Regions from separate parts of the Homo sapiens genome. Here region 2 is linked to region 1. Evidence: promoter capture Hi-C in human tissues and cell types (Jung and others, 2019). All regions are on one chromosome and are shown on one strand. Each heading gives the region's core, a stretch centred on a gene start or on the middle of the fragment in contact. The rest is flanking DNA. Distances are from core to core; before and after follow the strand shown. Region 1 holds the start of SNX13 (sorting nexin 13). Region 2 overlaps HDAC9 (histone deacetylase 9).

Region 1 (4,576 bases), core at 1,113-3,612:
TTATTCACTTAAGAAATATTTATTGAGCATCTACTCTGTGCCATCTACTATTCTAGTATTTTAGGTACTAAGGAAACATTGAACAAAATGAAAAAAAAAAAATCCCCGATCTTGTGGAGCTTACATTCTAGCGGAGGGAAGGCAATAGAAAATAAAAATAGAAAATGACGATGTTAGAAGGTTAGAAGGTAAGTACTATGAAAAAAACAGAAGCAAGGAAGGGAGGATTCTGGGGAAGGGGCAATATTTTAAATGAGATGATTAGGGTAGGCTTCTTTGAAAAAAGATGACTTTTAAGCAAAGATTGGACAGAAGTGGAAGATCTAGCCATGCAGGTATTTGGTGGAAAGATCTTTGCAGATAGAAACTATACACAGTGTAAGGGCCTCAGGGCAAGAAGATGCCTTGGTGTTACAGAAGCAGGGAGCAGGTCTGTGTAACTGGAACAAAGTGCTTAGCAGAAATGAGGTCAGAGGGGTGGAGGTGAGGTAGGACTTGGGAGGCCAGCTAGCATAGGATTTTTAGGTTGCAGAAAAGACTCAGGCTGAGAAAATTAGGAAGCCATTGGAAGAGCGACTACTTTTGGTTTCCTTGTAAGTCTGTAGACAAACTTCTGAAAGTTAAAGGCATATTCATGTCATATCACAGATTGGTTCAATACTCAAGTGTCAACACTTAATGCCTTGCTTCTAGAAAAGATAAAAAGATGTAGTAAATAAAACTGAATACTCAAGCCAGACAACTACATTGCTGTTTTAATTTACTAGCTGGTATCTTAAATATTAATGAACCTCCTTCTCTGTTTTCTTATTTACAGGTTGGAACACTATCTTTTTCCAGGTTCCTTGTTGTCTCTAGTATCTCTTGGTATCCTTTGATACCTCAGTCCAGGTAGGATTTCCATGCTCATTTTCTATTTGTGGCTTCATCTGTCAATACCAGTAACACATTTTATTGTATTGCAGAGGTCAGAATTTTGCTGGTCCAGCAATGTGGAAATGATGTACAAAATGCAGATTAAAACAACAAGAAAAACTACTTTGCTTCAATTAGTTGAATTGAGCAAAATCAGTTTTTCTTGAATTTTTTGCATGACTGCTTAAATGAACCGTTTTGTTTCCTTGACACGATAGAGATAATACAAGGTTTGCAATGCCCTTATTGTTTTGAGACTGTAAGAGTAATACATTAAGTAAATTTCATTTAGCACAACAGTACTATTGTTAAATGGAGGGAAAAGATTCTGGTAAAAGGGAAGAAACTCCTGGCTTTAGTTTTCTAAAATGCTTTTGTACCTCTTGTAAGAATGACATGGAGGTGTTTTTAATGTCAAGTCTGAAAATTTGCTTTTCAATTTACTTGGAAACTGGTTTCTAATACAAAACAGGGTAGCACACTTTCCCAGCATGTTCAGGTAAACTACTTTCATCACAATTCAGGTAGAAGTGACTGCCTTTAATTCCGTACATCGCAAACCATCTAGTGGTAGATCTAGAATGGCGTCAGTCTCAGGGACTTCTATGCACATTGAGTTCCAGAGTTCAATTCCATTTAAGTTGGGACTATTTACAATGACATTTGCTGAAATTTGCTCACCTTGATATACAAGCATATTGTATTAAGCAGCTAGTAAACCTGTGGAGATAGCAGGTAAAACGTAAAGCCTGTTTTACGTTTTTTTAGAGGTGCATTACTTGTAGCATAACTAAACCTTCATTGTTAGGCAGGTGCTGGCCAATTACATCAGCAAGTCCTAACTCCGCTAGGATCGGGGTAAAGCCGATAAGCCGCATCATATCTACAACCTGTCTCGGACCCCTGTAAAGAACTCACTGAGGATTGGTAGGGACAAAGGGAAGTTTCTGTCAAAGTTTAGGAGAAAAGGGCCGCGCAGGGAGCTGTTTCAAATAACACTTAAATCCCAGGAGAAGAAAGCCGAACCCCAACTCTTCGGTCGCCGCGGGGCCAGGGAGACGCGAGAGGGAAGTTTTTCTAAAGGAAATCTGCCGCCTTGTCCCCAAGACCAGCGAGGTCCGCAGCGCCATCAGTCAAGTGTCGGCCTCTGGCATTTTCTCCTCTCCCCAGGGCGGGCCAACGCTAGTGGGCGGTGGATGATGCGCCGGCCCCAAGGGCGCGCACGTCCATTCCCGGAAGGCTCGGGCGCTGGGGCCCCTCTGCACTCCCAGCGGTCCCAAGTTGGCCCAGGCGCCCGGTCCCGGGGTCCTACAAGTCAGCGCCAAGCCGACTGCCGACAGCCTACCTCCGCTTCTCCGCGCGCCGGCGCTATGGAGACGGTCACGAGACGCCAGCAGCCCCTGCGCCCGCCAATGGGAACGCACGTTGCAGCGAGACGCGGACGTCGCTCTTCCAAGATGGCGGCGCGTCCGTCGCGAGCGACCGGGCCGAGGGGAGGCCAGCGAAGCCGAGTAAAACCGCCGCCCGGGAGAAGACTGAAGGAGCAGTTGCCGCCGTTGGCGGCGGCCCGAGCAGTTTTCGCTGCTGCTACGGCTGTTGCCATGAGGCGAGGCTAGGGAGGACCTCACTTCCCCGGGGTGTAATAATGTTAACTGAGGTAAGCGGCGACGGTGGCCAGTGTTTACCTGTGAAATGGGGAAGGGGCCGGCGCCAGCCCGTCAGAGAACATCATCTGTACGGAAGGTGGGCCTGACCCTTCGCCGTGGGCTCCAGGGCCCGAGGAGCAGCGGGGATCCTACAAGTGCCCTCAGAGTAGGAGCTGTGCTGACTCAACAGAGTCCCACCACCTCCGGCTGCCAGTGCCTCGCCTTTCGCAGTTGCCACTTGCCACTCGCCCCTGGCACTGGTCTCCCTCCTGCTGTCACTCCCTTCTAACTCATCGCTCCCTTCTTCGTGTCCCCTTACACGCTACTCTGTGGCAGCGTTGGCCTTTCCACGTTACTGCTGGTTCTTGTGATCCTATGGTTTGCCCTAGGTCTCCTTTCTCTGGTCCCTGGGCTCCAGGGCCCTCCGCCTCCGAGCTCGGTCAGCACCCTGGGGTTGTTGCTCGGCCCGACCGGTTTGTTTCCCACCCTCTACTTTGACTGCTTCATGAAGTGGACTTTTTTATCTCAAGCTGCACATGTATGGCTCAGTTGGGTCATCCCCCTCCCCCACATCCATCACCTTTTCGGTTAAATCGTGGTCATCACAAAGTTCAGTTTAGCATCTGCCACCTTGATTTGCGTGTGGCCCCCTTGTTACTCCCTATGGAATAGTTTTTTTCTTTGGACCTGAAATGGAAGTAGGGCAACTATGACGAACCAATCAATTTCCCTTTTCTAGTGCCTAATGGGCATTGCAAAAAGCCGACTTTTTGAAGAAGTAGAGTTTGCCTTTACTAGCAACACTTTAAGGGGAAGAACTAAATCGGTGCAACTAGGTACTTGACCCAGGTTAGCCCAGTTATGTGTTGTAGTATCTGCAGGTGTAGGTGTCACTGAACATAAAATACTGAACCTTGTGATTTGATGAAATACCTTTTTCGAAGCCTTTCACTTTAAGTACTGTGAGGATCCTGACGTGAGGAACTGACCGGATTGGGCATTTTTATGGGCTGAACTGAATAGGAAACAGTTTTAGTGGGCAATGGGAAGTATTCCTACATGGGCCAAAAAGGAAATACAAACATTTGTAGGTGAGTGGCTTTTATTTTGTGAAAAGTGATGGTAAAGCACGTACTTGCCTGAAATTTCAGGTCCTTGGAACGTGACTAACTTTGAGGAACTTTATACTTTGCTGTTTGTACTTAATCTAAGCACAGAGCCTGGCATATGATAAATACTTACTGGTTGATTGTAACTTCTACAGTACGTATTTTTAGTTGTTTGAAGTTCATTTTATATTTCTAAATTCTACAGATTTTTCATTCTTGGAGTTAATTGAGATTATGGTTATAGCATAAGTTTGTGTTGTGATTAGCAGTAATAGATTAGAAAAAAGAGTTATAAGTAGCAGAAGTTTCATTTTTACCTTAAGTGTGATATTTTAGTGGGAACAGTTAGCCTTATAATAAGTGTTTAGTGTTGTCTCTAATGTGTAATATTATATGATATGATCTTTTCCTTAAACTTAGCTTATGTTAACATGTTTCAGAGTTTTAATACTTTCAAATGAACTACTTGTGTGTCTGCCAGTAAAATGATTTGGAAAGATGGAGCTTTCTCAGCTTCTGTATTTTAATGCAATTTTGCGTTTTAGGGAAATATTTTAAACAGTAAATCAATGATAATATTAAGTAAACTGTACTTTAGTACTTTTTGTGTGAACACTGCACAACTTATAAGTGGCAGAAGCAGGATTCCAACCTTGGCAGTTGCCACCTAGCCCATTCTGTTAACTTTTCTAGATTGCCTCGCCAAAGTAAGACCCAGATTAAATTGTACTAAAGTCTTCCCTATAGTTTTCAGTAGTCGTTTATAGATTAGGAAACTGAAGCCAGAGACTCTTGTCCAAGGTCAATTATTAAATATTAGTGACAGTCGAAACTGGAATCTCATCTCCTAACTCTCAGTAGAGAGCTCTGACCGTTTTGCTCAGCTGCCTCTCAAGTAGTTTTCAG
Region 2 (4,626 bases), core at 1,769-4,268, 640 kb before region 1:
TTAGCTTTATCCATAAAAAATACAAGACAAAACAAAATAAAAATTCTAAAAATCAAAAAACTTCCTAATCTGAAAAAGTAATATTAATTATGTCTTTGGTTTCTAAGAAAACAAATTATTATTTTGGAAAATCATTTTAAAAGCTAAATTTTCCTTTTAGCTATCTCATAATTCTTTTTTCTCACAGGAGCCACTTTTCCAATATTTTCCAGATGTCAATAAACCAACACTATTGTTTTGCTTGTGCCAAATGAACAATTAATTATCTACTTGCTACTATTACCTTTTGAGTAAAATTAAGCAATAAATTTCTTTCTAAACAATTTATATTAACTTTATAGCTATCAAAGGCAGCAATATAAATGAAAAGAAGTATCTAAAGCAGTAACTTATCAGTATTGCCCTGTATTTAGGGAAACATGTCTCACTTAAAGCAGCAAAATGAACTACACAGTCCCTTACATCTTAAAGTATGGTGAAAAATGTACATTTTACTCATTTCTCTTTGCCATCTTAACATGCTGGAAGGAAAGAAACAGATCTAGATATCAATGTTTCTATTATTGTTTCAAAGGTCAAATTTAAATAAAGCTTCAGTATTCATTCAAAAATAAGTCTAAAAACTAAAGAAAGGCTACCCATACTTCAAAATGTAGCCATGAGCTACTGATTCCATTTGGGACAAAAGAAAATACTCTCACTTTAAGGTATTTTGTACATCAATAATATACAAGAGTTCTTTTTGGAAAGTTCACTACTAAAAGAAATAAATATATTTTATATCACTTGTCAAAGAGCCTTTTTAGGAATATACGATAATAAAGTTCTTTTAGGATTAAGAAACATCTTGTAAACCAAGTAATATAGAGAAGAAGATAGCATTTTTACTTCCTTAGAAACTGTCATATTAATGTGGTAAAATTACATACTAGTAACATCAGTTATCTGTATCAACCCTCTATCAATGTGCTTGTACTTGATATGCAAGTAATAAAGTTCCTATAATACAAAACAATAAAGTATGAGATAACATAATTTATTACATTCACAAATTAGCAAGTGTTTGTCATCTTTGAAAGTTAGATATAAAAATAAAATTTTTGTTGTAAATCTTTGCTGCTTTTCTGTCACAATAAATTCAAATTAAATAGCCTTGTTTCAACTGTCTTTGTCAAGAAGTTGCAAGATGTTTTACAAATAAAGCTAAAGTAATATTTATCTCTGAAGATACAAAATTTAAAAAAACAGACACATCTAATATTATTAGATAATAAAATAAGTTATTATTAAAAATTCTGGAATATGGATATATTTGTGCTAAAATAATTTAAACAACTTTAGTCTCAAATTGTCAACTACTCCCAAATACTTTCAATAAATTCTTATCTACAGTCTATAAAAACATTTGCACCAGTTTCTCCATTTATAACTCCCTTAAGCTTTTTATTATACTATTATTTTGAATGTGTACATTATGAGATCTTTTCTATAAGGAAGAGTCGGACATACTCAGAACATCTACTTATACACCATGTTTGTTTTTTAAAAACAGCTCTCTTCATATAAGGTGACTAATTTATCCTTTCTCACAAATAGTACATGTAGACTCTTCAGAAATGAAATATGAAATGGGTCTTCTAGGCTCATGCTTCTTCTTGGTGGAGAGCAGATGGGGCAAATGAACAAAATCACGTAGGAGAGAATCTAAAATTAGGATAGGAAGTTACTATTCCCTGCTATTGATTCTATGTGCTAAAGGATAAAGAAGGTCCCTCTGAGAAGCAAAACAGGTTTTTAACAGGTACTTACCCAAAGTTTTCACTAGTAAAATCACAATTCCCTTCAAGCCATATATCCATGTCTTAATCACAGTGAATCTACCCGCAAAGTGTTCCCATGGGCACTGTTCATGCCCACCACGGTGCAGACTCCTGAGTAAGGTCACAGACAAAGAAGCATTTGCTACCTTGATATGCTCCTGAAGCTGAGCCTGGTGCTGCCGTGTCAAGTTCTCATGCTGTTTCTGAAACTCTGCTATCAGAAGCTGCTTCTGGATTTGTTGCTGCTGCTGGATAAGAAGTAATTCCTGCTGCAATTGCTTCTCACGGACAACAGGGTCCACCACGGGCATCATCATCCTGAGGTCTGTCCTTAGGTCTAAAGGTGAGATGGGCTCCAGGCCCACAGGAACTTCTGACTTCACATCCACTAAAGAACCAGAAAAAAAGGGAAATGGGGTGGGGGAGGGTAATAGAAGATTGGAAATTAGCACATTGATTTGGAAACAAATAAAAAGTATAAGACCCTGTACAACAAATTTTATGCCAATGACTCTAGCCATTTCTTTACAATGATGATATAAAGTCATTTGTACATTAGTTTTGATAAATGGGCCATAGGCTAATTTTCATTCAGCAATTTGCACTCTGCCATGAATCCTCCACAATTTCCTTTTACAAACAGGTGACTTCAATTGTTTACTGGTATCAGTCATTCATAAAACTTATTCTACTGAACCACTAACAAAAATCAAGTCAACGAGGACAAAAAAAAAAATGGAATTATGTTGAGGAAAAGATGCCCTAAGAGAGAACTTCCACCATGACTACATTTGTACACTTAAGAACATCTTCCTTTGTAATCAGCGTCAGAAGATATCTTCAACTTTACAAAGTAAAGGTTGTAATATAACGTATTTGCAGCACTATTGGATGTACCAAAGACAGAATAGACAACTGCATGCTAAAATGTGGAAAATGGTAATTAACCACAGCAATGGTGCCAGATCCAAACAACAAGGAGTGAAAGTAGCCAAGTTTCTAAGTCCTGATGTTGAATTGGTAATAATCTGTATCTCAGCTACCTCATTCCTAAAATAAACAAGGTGGAAAAAGTATGAGGAAACTTAAAACAAGTATTTAATCAAACCACTGGAGTAAAAAAGATTTGATGATCTGAGAATAACTACAGATGATAATATTTAAATTTATACAAATTAAATTAGATAATAGATATAAAATTCTTAGCAAAAACTCTTAGTAGATAAGAATGCTGCTTTCAGGGCCCGGCGCGGTGGCTCACGCCTGTAATCACAGCACTTTGGGAGGCCAAGGCAGGCAGATCACGAGGTCAGGAGATCGAGACCATCCTGGCCAACACGGTGAAACCCCTTCTCTACTAAAAATACAAAAAATTAGCCGGGTGTGGTGGCGGGTGCCTGTAGTCCCAGCTGAGGCAGGAGAATGGCGTGAACCTGGGAGGCGGAGCTTGCAGTGAGCCGAGATCTCGCTACTGCACTCCAGCCTGGGTGACAGAGCGAGACTGTCTCAAAAAAAAAAAAAAAAAAAAGAATGCTGCTTTCTAAAGGAATAGTTTAAGCAGGAAAACTCACAGACAGGATATCCAGGTGTACCATTTATTTATTGTTGGTGTCCATTCTGACATTTTGAATGACCAGCATCCATGCCAAACTGGTTGTTAAATATTTTGAGTATGACCCTTACCCACAAGAATCGGGAAAATTCTGTAGTTCAGTGTAAAAGGTTAAGCTAAAGACAACAGGAATTTTGGAGGGGAAACTGTGGCAAACTGGATTGCATGGCTTTTCAAAAGAGGCCAGTCACTACTCAGATAAAACCAACTATTTGTGGGAGTTGTGGGAGAAAAAGAAAATACAGATCCAGTGTAGACAGAAATAACTGTTAACTGAAAATTAAACTGAAAGATTTTTTAGGCTGCTGGAGGGCTCACTTTTTCGTCCAGGCTGTAGTGCAGTGGTGCAATCATAGCTCACTGCAGTCTAGAACTTCCTGGCTCAAGGGATCCTTCTGCCTCAGCCTCCCAAGTATCTGGGACTTTAGGTGCATATCACCATGACCAGCTAAATTTTTCTTTCTTTTTTTTTTTTTTATAGCTGGGGTCAGGGCAGTGGGAGCTGGGGTATTATCTTGCTATGTCGCGAAGGCTGGTCTTGAATTCCTGACCTCAAGTGATCCTCCTGCCTGAGCTCCCAAGTTCTGAGATTATAGGCATGAGTCACAGCACCAGGCTCTTCAAAAGCTTTAAATACTCCAGGAACCAAACAAAATGCTTCAGTCTTTACATGTACCAGTTTTCAAATTCTGTTCTATAATCTAAATGCTTATTTGACTCTTTCATGTGTGTAACATTGAAGATGTTATTAATTTCCCTAGGCCTCTGTTCCCTCATCCGTAACTTGGAGATAGTAACAGTAAGTACTAATAGCATGTAGCACAGCCCTTAACAGATGTTTGTTTTTGCTTTTTTATTATATGAAATGGAAATTTCTTATATATTAAAATAAACCATCAATAGTAAGTAGCTAACAAAACAAACATATTAGAAACAAATATAAAAATAAAATGGCACACAATTTCTACTAAACATTAGAAAATAAAAATACTAAAACATCTAGATCAAAACAAATAAAAGAATGCAACAACTGAAAATCACCTTCACTAGTAAAGAATTGCAAATTATGAATCAAAATAGAGCATCATTGATTATTATCATATATATGACCCACGTGTATACATATATGTGTACAATGCCCCATTGTATAGGCTAAGCGTATGACCAAAGAGACGATTATTTATGGCAAGTGGA

What was found. Contacts are between HindIII fragments. The study calls those that stand out against the background at their distance.
Region 2: a fragment that was not itself captured here is called in contact with the fragment with the promoter of SNX13 in region 1 in 1 of the 25 tissues and cell types used here (dorsolateral prefrontal cortex).

The regions. Positions count from the first base shown.
Region 1 is chr7:17,938,280-17,942,855 of GRCh38, reverse strand. SNX13 (sorting nexin 13) reads left to right here and starts at 2,362. Exons shown (of 26, transcript NM_015132.5): 1 at 2,362-2,572. The coding sequence starts at 2,561. The HindIII fragment of the contact is 14,565 bases long and covers 1-4,576 here.
Region 2 is chr7:18,582,863-18,587,488 of GRCh38, reverse strand. It overlaps HDAC9 (histone deacetylase 9), which reads right to left. Exons shown (of 26, transcript NM_178425.4): 3 at 1,967-2,208. Among named protein-coding and RNA genes, the nearest start is that of HDAC9, 89 kb to the right of the region's middle. The HindIII fragment of the contact is 4,006 bases long and covers 1,016-4,626 here.